4 separate regions of the Homo sapiens genome follow, and regions 2, 3 and 4 are each linked to region 1. The links are contacts of gene promoters, found by promoter capture Hi-C in blood cells and fetal thymus (Javierre and others, 2016). All regions are on one chromosome and are shown on one strand. Each heading gives the region's core, a stretch centred on a gene start or on the middle of the fragment in contact. The rest is flanking DNA. Distances are from core to core; before and after follow the strand shown.

Region 1 (3,338 bases), core at 280-2,779:
ATCTTCTAAACCCCAGCTCAGAGAACCTTCTACTATACCACTTTGCCTCACTAGTGAACTAAGAACCATTTCCCCCAACACTAGTAACTCACTCTAACCATGCCAAGTCACTGCAACACCTTGCTTGCATCTGCAAATTTTTATCTATGTCTATATCAGAACCTCAGAAAACATGTTCATAGCTGAGACATTTTGCTCAAGACGAAATACAGTTTTATAGTCTATTAATTGTTGGTCCAAGAAAACAGATTACCTCCAGTTGTATGTGGGTACCTTAATGAGTAGGACAAGTGTCAGGGTGTGTGACAGAATTGCCTGAGTATGGAAGGTAGCAGTGAGAGTCTCCACAAAAATATTAATACTTTCCTATAGAGAAAGCCCCTTTTAAAGTGGGAGCCTTTATTAAAGTCCAGAGTTAAAAAGTAAGCTCTTTAACGTTGAGATTATAGACTTTTAGAAAGTTCATTTATGCCATGTTTCAGGCCTATGCTAAATTCTACGGCAAAAAGACCTGTAAATGCACCGGAGCTGACAGCCTGGGTCCTGGAACCCTTCCTCACGCTGCTACTACGGGGCACCCTTTCTATAATACAACCCCCCGAATGAAAACACTAATGCAAGCCTGGCCCCACAAAAACCTAGATAATGCTTACGTTGAAGACGACAGGTTTTTCGCTTTTGTTTTCGGTTGAGGACTTACTACCCCAAAAACACATCCGACCTGTACTAGAATAGGTGTGTGAGGGAGCGGGAAAAGCTCGGGTCATTTTAACTGGACTAGAAAGGAACACAGCGATCCCCTCACTAAACTTGTCGCCAAGTTCCCTCCTCGCCATCCCAGGGTGCGGGAAAAACCCCCTCCCGCCCCGGGGCCCCGGCAGCACTCGGGGACGCCAGCACGCCGGGCTCCTTCCCACCCGCGAACCGCGCTCCCCGCAGGGCGGGCCGGGGCGGGGAAAAAGGAGCTCGACGCGAAGGGCCGCGGGCGGCCTGGGAAGGGAGGAGGGAGACTTGGGAGGCTGCCGGGCGGTTTTATTGTTTCCTTTCGCCCTCCTCCTACCGCGCCTCCGCCCCAGCGTCACTGGAAAGCCGCCCGAGCCGCCCGGCGGCAGGTTATTTATAGCGCGGGCTGCGCGCGCGTCACGGAGCCCGGCCCGGCTGACGGGGCCGCTGACGCGCTTGGCCGCGGGGCCGAGTCCGCGGGGCTGCGCGCCGGACGCCGGCGACAATGGGCTTCTGTGTGCAGCTGCCGCAGCCGCCGGGGGCCGGGGGCCGGGGGCCGGGGGAGGGGGGCGGGCGACTCCCCGGCTCCCTTCTTGGTCGGCCGCGACCCCCCGAAAGGTAACAGGCCTCTTTCGCCCCCGGCCAGGACCTGGGCCCTGTGGGCTTTTTTTTTTTCCATTTTATCAGTAAGTTCCCCTTGTCCCAGCCTCCGCTTTCACTTCCCGCGTTCCCTCCACCCCAAAAACCGCCCCAACATGTCCAGAGAGGGGCATCTACCCAGCCGCCCAGCCAGGGGCGACCACTTTGTGAGCCCCGGGGAGCGGGACCCGTACCAGGCGCGCCCAGCGGGGGATGCGGTGACCGAGGGGCCGGGAGCGCCGGGCAGGTAACGTATCCTGGACCTAGAGTCGGGGGACTTTGTTTGGGGCGGGAGGAGCGGAACAGGGGTGGGTGTGAACGCCGGACGGCCCTTCCGGGACTCCTGTCCCCCCTCCTTCGCCCCACTCGCCTGCGCGCTGGAAGCCAATCTGGGTGTGTAGCGCGAAGAGCGAAAGAGAAACTTCTGCGTGACTGACTAGATGAGGCTCCTCCCGAGAAGCCGAGATAATAGAGGCCCCCTCTCCCGCCGCCCGCCTTTTTCTCCTCCCCCGGCCGCTCGCTCCTGTCGCCCCACCCCTCGAAGGCTGCGGACCAGCCCCCCACACTTCCCCCTACACCTCTGGCGGGTTCGCGCCGTGGACGCCCCCGCCCTGCGGGAGGAGGGGCTGGCGCGGATTTTAGGGACTTCCTGGGATGCGGAGATCGGCTCTGAACCATCCCCTTTCTGCTGCCCGGAGCTGGGGAAGCTCGCTGTGGAGCGTCTCGCACGTGGCAGGCAGGCAGAGAACTTGCTGCACCTTCTAGGAAATTGCAATCGATTTGTAATGCACTTTCGCTAATTGGGAGTTCAAAATTAAACTTTAATAAAGCATTCGTGTCGTCTCGTCTAATTGTGAAAGCTTCCATCCGTCCTGGTAGATAGACTCTAAGTCTCAAGTTAATGGCGCTAAGCTAGATTTTCCCCCCAAGTACAATTCCGTCAGCCGTCGTCGGCGCAGCTGGATTTCCGTAAGGTACAGATGTTGCTAATGACAGCTTAAGCACGGATGGGCAGATAGCATACGGAATGCAACATGTTGCCATATGGTTCCTTTAGCCTTTCACCTCCAGGGATATCAATCACATATATTCTGGGAGGAACTTAATGACTCTCTGAACAGCAAAATGAATTACCTGGTACAATTTATATCCCTTGACCTGATACGTTATAACAACAGGAAGATAGCATCTCGCAATTTCTGTGGTATAAATTGAACTACAGAGCTACATTTAAAATTCTACATCTATTTGTAGTTTAAGGGGCCCTGTCATATTCTGGCTGTAAAATCTGTTTCTGTATTGCCCATCTCCTTCCCCCTCCTACCTCTGGAGGAAGCAAAATTTATAAAGTTTAGCAAAACTGGTGTCGGAAATTGCCAGTCAACTGATTAATAGATGAAGTATGGAGAAATGGAAAATATGACTTCCAGAGCTACTTACTTCAACAAGAATTAGCCATCTTTAGGAACACCATACTTTTAAGCGTACAAAATTAAAGAACTCCAGAAAATGTATTTTCTGCTAGTTGTTTCAGTATAGCTCCTAAATCTATTCATTAACTATTTGAAATTCTCCATTTATTTTCAAACTTCAACCATTCCTACACTTTGGAAATTACAGAAGACAGTTCTCAGAAATATGAAATACAGGAAATGTAAGTAGCACCTCCTCAGCGAACCAGTTTCTGTACCCACAACCCCATGCACTCACTATTTATGTAGCTTAATTTGAATCATGTACATGGTGGTACTGGTAGTTTGCTTTTTCCTCCCAACATGTCAGTGACAGCATACTTAAGTTGCTGCTTCTCTCCTAGTGGAGTGATTCTGCAATATTTCACAGGTCTCATTTTTAAATATCCTGGTGACTAATAAAATGTTTTAATTGATTGCCTTTAATTTCAGATTATAAACGTGGTTGTCTTACTGTATCCTTTATTTTCTATTCACTAATACAGATAGATCACACGGGAAGAC
Region 2 (3,338 bases), core at 338-2,837, 720 kb before region 1:
ACCAGGTAGGTAGTATGAGTTAGGTGTTAGAAGCATTGAATATTGAACAGATATTTCTCCTCCTAGACATATAAATAATAATAGCACATATTGAATGTGTATGCATTGTTTCTAGGCTTTTGTATTCAACTAGAAAGCCACTCATCCTGAGAACCATGTTGACATAAAATTCCATCAAAGAAGAGCACATATTTAAAGTCAGTTGATCATACTCACCTTTTGGCAGGTCCACTCTAACCAGCCTCACTCTCTGACCAGCAGAATGTGTTTCTTCATCTACCAAGGCAAAGATGATAATTGACAAAATGGCCAAGGCCACTTTAAATTCAAAATGGAGTTAGGTGCCTGAATTAATACAGGATGGAGAAATTCATAAAAATAACTCTTTAATTTTACAATGATTTTAGGAGTTGATTTTCTATAAAAGAGTTGACATGAACCTGTTACAAACACCCATCTAGTTCATGCCAAAAGACAGCTGCAGTCCTTTCCAGATGGGAGCACTCTCACAGGGCACTTGCTGAGAATTCTTCAACACAAACATTGTTCTGTGGGTTTCTTGATCCATCTGCTAACTTCTATTTTGCATAGATTTTCCAGAACTGAAAACCTAGAAAAAGGATAAATTCCCCAAGATTCAAATTCAAATCAAAGTGTTTCAATAGAGGAACTCAGTCTTACACTTCAATGAGAGTAGATTTACCCTCTGGGAGAAGCTTGGCAAATACCCACAATCATAGTTCATTACCAGATGTGCAATTTTAAACTCTTTTATGAAGACAAGGCCATAAACTTACTCAAAGACAATGTCTCTTTACATGAACTAATGGTTCTCAGAAGTTTAAGAAATCCTAGATATGGAAATATCCTAGATATGGAAAACATGAGAGAACAAGTCTTTATTTTGTTTCTTATTCCCCACCTACATGCAGAATAGTGAACAAATAAGTACTATTAATAATTCTTAGGCTAGTCATGTGAAACTATAAAATTTTCACTTTGTGGTGAACAAGAGAAGGCATTTTACAGAGAACAGGACACAATTCACTATTTTTAGAGGCATTTACAAATTGTTTTCAAGCCTAATAACTATCATTGTCTTTCCTCTCCACCTGTGATCTCTGTGGGTAGTGCCCAAACTCACATTCTTCATGATTTGTCTGTTTTATTTCCAATTCATATGGACCCAATCACCAGGATAGGGGGCTGAAGGCACTTTCCCTTCTCTCTCATTTTATAAGCTGTTCACAAAATTAGTGAATTTTGGAGCTAGAAGAAATCTTACCATCCATCTAATCTACCCCCCCCCCACCACCCTTAGAGTGAACAAACTGTAAGGAAGAATGAACAGTCATACACCTGTCAGCTGGAGAAAGAACAAAACCTAGAATCCAAGTCTTCAAATTCTTAGTCAGCACTCTTTGACTTCTCCAAACCACATTCCTTGACTGGCTCTTACTACAGAGAAATAGGGAATCCCCACATTGTTCCATTTACATGGCATTACACATCTGGCATAACACATGTGGCATAATTTGGCCATAATGTACTCAATTAAAAAATAACTTGGAAGTTATCTTAATGTGAATTTTTACAATCCTAAGAAAAACAGCTAAGAGTGGTTATTTATACTTTCATATGGAAGGTGTTTTTTTTCTAATTCTAAGAAACGTCCATGGTAGCTTGATGGAGACAGCACTGAATCTATAAATTACTTTGGGCAGTATGGCCATTTTCACAATATTGATTTTTCCTATCCATGAGCATGGAATGTTTTCCCATTTGTTTGTGTCCTCTCTTATTTCCTTGAGCAGTGGTTTGTAGTTCTCCTTGAAGAGGTCCTTCACATCCCTTGTAAGTTGGATTCCTAGGTATTTTATTCTCTTTGTGGCACTTGTGAATGGGAGTTTACTCATGATTTGGCTGTCTGTTTCTCTATTATTGGTGTATAGGAATGCTTGTGATTTTTGCACATTGATTTTGTATCCTGAGACTTTGCTGAAGTTGCTTATCAGCTTAAGGAGATTTTGAGCTGAGAAGATGGGGTTTTCTAAATATATAATCATGTCATCTGCAAACAGAGACAATTTGACTTCCTATTTGAATACACTTTATTTCTTTCTCTTGCCTGATTTCCGTGGCCAGAACTTCCAATACTATGTTGAATAGGAGTGGTGAGAGAGGGCATCCTTGTCTTGTGCCAGTTTTCAGATGGAATGCTTGCAGCTTTTGCCCATTCAGTATGATATTGGCTGTGGGTTTGTCATAAATAGCTCTTATTATTTTTAGATTCGTTCCATCAGTACCTAGTTTATTGAGAGTTTTTAGCACAAAGGGGTGTTGAACTTTATTGGAGGCCTTTCCTGCATCGATTGAGATAATCATGTGGTTTTTGTCAAGGCAACTAAACAGGTGTTTGGGCCACAAGCCTTGCACTCTAGGGAATCCCCAAAGCTTGAGTTGACTTGCTTTTATTTGCATTTTCCTGTGAAGTGGATGCCTTTCTTTGGGGAGCAAATGATTCTGTGATGCCCAGATAGAAAGTTTGAAATGTGTCATAAGGATGCCTTCTTATTATGGCAGGATAAGGAGATAATGTTTACAGGCTTATGTGTCTGGGTATGAACAAGGTTAGAAGAGAAACAGAACTTTCCTATTATTTTGATGATATGACCAACATGGCTTATTTTCTCCCTTACCTAGTTTGTGCTATATAAAACCTTAATTCAATGTATTTCATTAAATTCATCTTTAAATAAAAATGATTAGTATGTTATTTCTCTGATATCTTTGGGCTAATCATATTAATGCCTTTGGTTTAAGAAGTGAAACATTTGAATTACAGTTGCTGGTGGATGGCACCAGCAACCATGTGGTTTTATAATGCAGAATTATGTAATGATAAAACATAGTCTGTTCAAAAGAGTACAAAGTTAAAAAGAAACTTTTATTGAAGGCTTTTAAATTGTATTACATGCATCTCCATTTAGCAGATTAAAAATGAAGGTTTAAAAAAGGTATGCAATTGCTCATTATTGAAAATAAAATGATATTATCAAAGGGGAAAAATAGACGTCTCTCTTACCTTCTGATGCTGTTGTCTTTGTAGTCTTGCAATAATAGGACCACTTGAATCATTGATAACTCAGAATATATGCATAATTAGACTTGAAATCATGTGGATTCTGTTAGAATTGCTTTCCAAATGTGGCATCTCCTCCTCTCCACCTTTACTATGCTCAATTATCATCAACATTAGCCTGAATGATGGCAAGAATCTTCTCACTTGTCTCTCTTTCTCTTCCAGGCAGTCTTGGTGACAATGTTACTTTCTCAAA
Region 3 (3,338 bases), core at 538-3,037, 700 kb before region 1:
CATCTCCTATAAATTAGTGTATTTATATTTTCCAGGCCAGGGACTGTTAGGTGCCAAGCCACAAAGGAGAACAAGACAGCTCCTGTTCTTAAGGAGCAGAGTCTAACAAATATGTATCCACCTTGAAAAATATTGTTGTATTTATACTAGTATTATTACTGTTATTCATTTTTAATGATTATTATACCTAGTTCTAGCAAAAACACAACATTTTTTACAACAGTACATATTACTCAAAAAAGAAATGATATTCTCTTATATAAACAAGTTTTCTTTATAAAGGTAGAGAAATGTGTCAATTTTCTCCTTGAACTTCTGCCACCTTGTAATCAGGAACTAATTAATTAATTAGCTAATATTTTTAAAGTGCATTGAAAATGAGCTGTATCATAGAAATGCTAAGTATTTTAAAGCCTTGCGTTGCCTCATATATACCAAATAGGCTTTCTTAAAGTTTGTAAAGGACAATTTGAACAAATTACATTTGGTTAAAGGAAAAAGCTAGGCGTATATTGAAGACAGGTGTAGTCAGGAGTAGGAGAAGTTGGAATGGGAAAGTGCAAATGTAATCAAGAGAAGGAAAATGATTCTTTACTTTTATCTCCATTTATCATTATCAGAAAACAAAAGAGATGTATGTCTTATAAAATGCTAAAAATAGAATACAAATTTATCAAAATGAAATAGTACGATAATTGTTCTTATACTTACGAAGTTGTTAATAGAGTTAAGTCAGGACTTCCTATACAGGTGATTATTTTATAATGCTCTTGGAACTTAACTCCAAGGCCAAAACATCCCATTTGGAATATTGAGCTATATCTGCACTGCCTAATCATGGATAACAATCAGCCTCTTCCTTCTCCATGATTTTCATGTCCAAAGACTGTGCCAATGCCTGGGGAGGACAAAGGAAAGAAGAATCATGGCCAGTGCCCCCACACTGATAAATGTGGAAAACCAAGCCACAGCAGTCACGCTTCAATATGAGATTTCAAACCTAGAGAGTTCTCAAATGGGGTAAATTGCTCAAGTACTTTTTTAGACCCAGACTTACTTTTGTGATTTTTAAACATGATCATGTGGAAATTCAACTTTGCTAGAAATTATATTTGTTTCAGTTTAGTGGTGGTGGTGTTGTGCAATCTTTCCACACTTCTCTTTCTTTAAAGCCAATGAGAGAGATGGCCCAGAACATAGAAACAGAAGGCAACCGCAAAACATTGTTATGGTACTATTTTCACTCCTCAGGTATTATTTGCAGCATTTGCAGATCACTGCTGGTGTTCTCTCTTGTGAATATATGAGGAATAGACCTGACCCACAGAGTTAACTTGGCTAAGTGAGGTTCACTTGGCTAACTTGAGTTTGGCCTCAACTTGACATCATCACTGTGGGCTCAGCAAAGTGATTGCTCACAAGTAGACTGTGCAATATGCCCTTTTACCTCCTCCGAGGCCATAAATTATCACCCCAATAGTATACGATCATATCTTTTTCTACGTCACTTAAGGCAGATTAAATGGCGTCATCCAGTCTTTCTTACCTTTACAATTCTCATAAGCCATTTGGCCGATGTAGAAACTGAGATATAGAGAGACTGAATAGTTTCTCCAACCTCCTATATGTAGCAAAAACTTGGAGTTGAACATAGATGTCTAATGCCAGAGCCAGAGTCCTTAACCAATATACCATACTCTCTACCCATAATAATGATAATTACTAACACTTATCTAGAACCAGTGCTTTTCCAGTTAATTAAATTACTTGACTAATTTTATCTTCACAACAACCATATAATGTAGCTATTATTACTATGCCACTTGTATGTATGAAAAAACTGAGATGTAGAGAGGTTGTATAATTAAAGTTTGATCAATAGTAAGTGGCAGAGCAGGGATCTGAATAGGACATACTGACTTTTAGGATTTTATTTCGCATATAAATATCATGTAGAAACGTAGTATGCTTCATGACAAATCTTAGTGAGATACTGGATTTTTTCTCCTTTATATGACCGTAAGAGCTTCATAAGTCCTCATTTGTATGAAAGTTTGTTCCTAACCATTGTTTGGATTAAGACAGTAACATTAAAAAATTATGTATCCCTTAGAAGAGCAATACACTATCATGTAAGCATTTATGAATGCACTAGTACAGATGTTTATCTGATTAGCTAGCTGTCATTGTGCACAGTTAAACTCTAAGTAAAGGAATCTGTTGTAAGTCTTTGATAGAGATGAGTTTTAGAAAAGGTCCAAGTGCTCCCTGAAGAAATCATACCTGATAGGGAGAGAAACTACAGAAGGTCCTGAATAAACAGGATACCACACTGTATCCTGAGAAGAAAATACATCAAATAAGTAGAGAAATGCTCTTTGCCTCAGATTTGAACCTATAAACTAGCTTGACACATACAAACACCAAATATGAAATGACCAAGGAAGTTTGACTTCTTCACAGAAATCTCAGAAACCTCTGCTTGAACTCCACACCAAGCATGCACTCAGCCTGTTATTTCTCTTTCCTCTGTGTTTCTACAATTTAGAGTAGAAATTTGAACTTCAGTTTTCTTGCTGTGGTGCTCCGTGTACTTGGTTTGGGCTCCTCACTTGTTCTACTGCTCTATGCCCTAGTTGTAGTCTCCATGATCTAAATTAGGCTGTAATTGTTGATTAATACCTTGAAAGGGACCAGCCAAGGCCCATGACGAAAGTTCAAAGGCCCTGAAGTTAGATGTGTATTTTGCTGGCTTGAAGTCTTGATCGGCTCCATTGACTGTGGCTATGGTGAAAGTTGTAAGAAAAGCAAAAAGCAGTAGTGCTCCCCCCCGGCCACACCCCTTACCACCCATACCAATCTTAACTATTTAGGCTTGTCCTCTACACAACTGTCTTGAAAAATTCTTTGACAAATTTTGTGGATCCTCTGCCATTCATTCAGTTTGACAGCTATGTGCTTTTTTTATAGGAAAAAGATAAAATAGACATATGTAACTATTAGGCAAGTTGCATCAAAATTTGGGAGTGCTAATTAACAGAGAACTTACCTTTACAAAAATCCTGTAAATTGCTGTCTATTTTTCCAGAAATTATGCTTATTTACTGTTTTCTGTTTCTGAGAAAGAATGTTTTAAAAACCCAACCCAACTCAATTCTATATTAATAATATAAAGAAAGACCATATAAAATGGATTATGAGAATTATGTTAGATTATACATGTAAATGATATTATACATGGTTAATATTAGGGATCATTTTTCTAATTTCCTATTTTCCTTTCTTTCCTATATTTCTTTTCAGAGTTATATTATGTCATGTTCTATTAATATCTGGAT
Region 4 (3,338 bases), core at 527-3,026, 650 kb after region 1:
AATTCAAACTTCAGCTTTAGCAAACTCTAAGAAATATGTTTGATATAGATTGTCAAGGCAGGGCCAGATGGGTCTATCCAAAGTAAGGTACGGGCTTTGGTGTTCTAAGGTGTAGAGTGAAAACTCAGAAAGAGAGCCAAGCATGTCTTCATTTATTACCATCTATTTAGAGAGCAGTTAGTAGATACTAGGTGCTGTGCGAAGACTGGTAAGGCATAGTCTTTGCCCTTGAGTTGTTTTGGGATGTCTATGAGAAACATTTAAACTGCTGTTTGAACTTGCACATCTGTTTTTGACTAGAGTAGGAGGTGCTGCCTGAGCAGAATCTTAAAAGACACTTAGGAGTTATTCAAGAAAAAAAGAAGAAAAGGTTTTTAATCATAACGAGAGTGCCAAAGGTACAGAGATTCACAGGATATTATTACATTCTAACAACTACACAAAATTTAAGCTAGACAGTCAGGGGTGGTGTGTGTCAGTATTGACAAGATAAGAAAAGATCAAATCAAAGTCCTTAATTGTCATTGTAAAGTGATTGAACTTTGTTATTCGTACAGTAAAAATTGGTATATTTTTGCTTTTTTGAGGCTAGAGTGCATCGGTACAAAAAATAAAAGTATACAGAAAGTAGAAATTAACAATTCCATTTTAATGCCACCATTAAAGTATGAAGAACAGAGGTGACTTGATCATCTCTGCATTTAGAAAGATTCTTCTGATCTTGGGAATAGATAGAAGGGAACCAAGTCATGCAGAAAGAACATCAATTTGGAAGATGTTGCTATAATCCAAACAACAAGAAATAGTAAGACCCTGAAAGAACAGAGGAAAGTGTGCATATCTGGAGATATTTAAAATGTACAATTGACAATAGTTGGTAAGTATTTGAATAAGGAAGTTAAGAGAATGGGAACACGCAGACATGACTAGCAAAACTAGGAAAACGAAAGCAGAGTTCATTGCTCTGATGCAAAACACAACTGTTCTAGAAATGAGGAACCAATACCAACCATCCATTTATATACTCATATTGCATGTTTATTTGGATGGATCAGACTTATTTATAGTGGCTAGGTTATAATTTGATAATTTTTCCAGTAATTGGCTTATAAACAACAAAACCTAAAGTGGTATAAACTACACACATTTTTAATTGGAGGTACAAGGAGTTATATATAAAAGCTCTTAATTTTTCTGTATATGAGTATGATATTCCTTTGAAGTTAAGAAGATGTATACTAAGTTTTGGGTATTGATACTGAACACCCCTAGGTTTTCAATAATCACTAGCCCTCCTACTCCGGTCTATTATTTTTGGACAGAAGAGAGTTAATGAGGCAATGCAATAATAAAGAAAAGAACATGAAGAGCAAAAAGCTATGTGACATTAAGATCTATTGGGGCACTGCTGAAATTGTTGAGTTTGATTTAAACCTTCAACCTAATTTAAGAAGGAGGCATTCTTCATCATTCTAACCTCAAATCCTGAATATAATTAAAGCTTTATAGGTTAAAGCTTTGATGGAATAATTTCCAGGTTTCTCTTTTCTAGTTCTGCATTTTGAAAAATCTTAATTATTATTCTATTTAGAACTTCAATCACTTAAATTTACAACTTGAGTGACTTTAGTTAAACCAAAAAAGCCTGATGTATTCTGTATCCAAATTTTCTGTTCTATTTTTCTTTAATCTTTTATTACGAACATGTCTAACAACTAAGGTCTTAAATATTCAGCTCCTCTTTGCTCTATGTTGAAAATAAACAGGGAACGCATTAGAGTTGTAGTTATTTTAGAGAGAGGATAAGATCCCTAATGAATTCTGGAAGCTAGGGAAGTTGATTTGTGAGGGATGTGGATATGCGTGAGAGATGTACAGATATAATTCAGTGAGGAAATTTGAATCACGCCTCAAGGCACAGGATGCCTGTGAACCAATCACTACATAAAGACTTTTTTGTTGTCCCATGCTTTGGCCTCTTGGTGAGGTTATTCTTTTGGCAAATGATCTATCTTAATATTACACAAGGAAGCTTTGTGTGAACAGTGCATAATCAGAGTTCTCTTGTCCGACAATAATGTAAGGAAAAAAATGTGTGCAATATCAAACACTACAGAACAGAATAAAAATAGTATTCCTTTGTTACATAAATGTAAAAGTAATAGTGAAAAGCAACGACTTAGAAAGAACACTGAAATTATGAAAACTTGGTGTCTTTGGAAGATTCTTTGTAGGATTTAAACAGGAATTTGGTGCTTTGGAGTATATATTCACATCACCAATGAGAACATTCATAGTATGTGCTAATAAGTATTGTTAACATGTACTAAATGTTTTATATGTGCCATTATTATACTAAGTAACTTTATATTATTTCACATACTTCTAACACCAAATAAAGAGATTGGTATAGTTAACTATTCACGAATCCCAGATAGGGGAATTGAGCCTACAGTTGTAGATCAGAATTTCAACTAAAGTCCATTGATTTTAGATGTGGTCCTTCCAGTCACCATCCAAGATTTCTTCTAAGAGTAATGTGTACTGTGGCTCCTTAGGAACTGCTTAATGCTATGTGATAAGATGCTTTGTTTAGTATTTCATTAAATTAGATCTATGATACTTATATAAGCATTGTATGCTGAAGAAAATCTTGAAACTGTGTTTACCTGTCTTTCATATTTTCAACATTTCAAAATTGTATTTGAATCATAGATCATTATTTTATAGTTCATGGTTCTCTAGGAGATAAATAGAGGTGCTTTAGGGGACCAGTGGCCTTCTAAAATTACATCTTAAACATAGTGTACTTGCAATTTGTTGTATTTTTCTGGAAACTGATAATATTTTATAGCTGCATGTGATCCAAAAAAAGTTTAAGGAACTTTAGTTGGAAGTTTTGAAAATAAATGAAATCTAAAATAACACTTTTACCAAAAAAACTAAAAATCAATATAATCCCCAAAATTTAATAGGAATAATGACAAGGTCATAAATGTATAAAGGCTTAGAAATAATGTCACCAGGAAACAGTGATTTTAAAAATTATTCCTCAGAGATTAGAGTATTAGAGTTATGTGATGTCGACTCACTAAGCAATAGCAAGTCCTATTAAAATTCTGTATTTTGAATTTGTTTATGTCAAATATGACTATATCAAATCCACTTAATATGAATCTATCAAATCTGTTTTAAAATTTGGTATGTAGTGCTTTGGATTACTGTTTTTATTTGGTTTGACTATTATTTTAATTTAAACACAAACTTTATTTGGTAAGTGTGTATGTGTCTTTATGAAAGACTGCCAGTCTATTCCAAAGTGCATAAATTTACATTTC

Evidence for each region. Contacts are between HindIII fragments. The CHiCAGO score rates a contact against its expected background, and 5 or more counts as called.
Region 2: a fragment that was not itself captured here is called in contact with the fragment with the promoter of FLJ46875 in region 1 in 1 of 17 cell types (endothelial precursors); the score reaches 6.5 in endothelial precursors.
Region 3: a fragment that was not itself captured here is called in contact with the fragment with the promoter of FLJ46875 in region 1 in 1 of 17 cell types (endothelial precursors); the score reaches 6.2 in endothelial precursors.
Region 4: a contact is called between a fragment that was not itself captured here and the fragment with the promoter of FLJ46875 in region 1, in 4 of 17 cell types (M0 macrophages, monocytes, M2 macrophages and 1 more). The highest score is 9.4, in M0 macrophages.

Annotation. Positions count from the first base shown.
Region 1 is chr2:156,340,311-156,343,648 of GRCh38, reverse strand. It overlaps FLJ46875 (a long non-coding RNA gene), which reads left to right and starts at 1,529. Exons shown (of 1, transcript NR_147695.1): 1 at 1,529-3,338. RefSeq lists enhancers at 248-307, 1,515-2,068, 2,069-2,624 and silencers at 718-1,327, 1,868-1,967. The HindIII fragment of the contact is 3,407 bases long and covers 1-2,224 here.
Region 2 is chr2:157,061,120-157,064,457 of GRCh38, reverse strand. No RefSeq gene overlaps it. Among named protein-coding and RNA genes, the nearest start is that of GALNT5, 190 kb to the left of the region's middle. The HindIII fragment of the contact is 1,738 bases long and covers 719-2,456 here.
Region 3 is chr2:157,044,463-157,047,800 of GRCh38, reverse strand. The region is part of intron 1 of LOC105373710 (a long non-coding RNA gene); the gene reads left to right. LOC105373709 (a long non-coding RNA gene) reads right to left here. Exons shown (of 4, transcript XR_001739755.2): 3 at 712-898. Among named protein-coding and RNA genes, the nearest start is that of GALNT5, 210 kb to the left of the region's middle. The HindIII fragment of the contact is 3,602 bases long and covers 1-3,338 here.
Region 4 is chr2:155,688,613-155,691,950 of GRCh38, reverse strand. No RefSeq gene overlaps it. Among named protein-coding and RNA genes, the nearest start is that of LINC01876, 560 kb to the left of the region's middle. The HindIII fragment of the contact is 516 bases long and covers 1,519-2,034 here.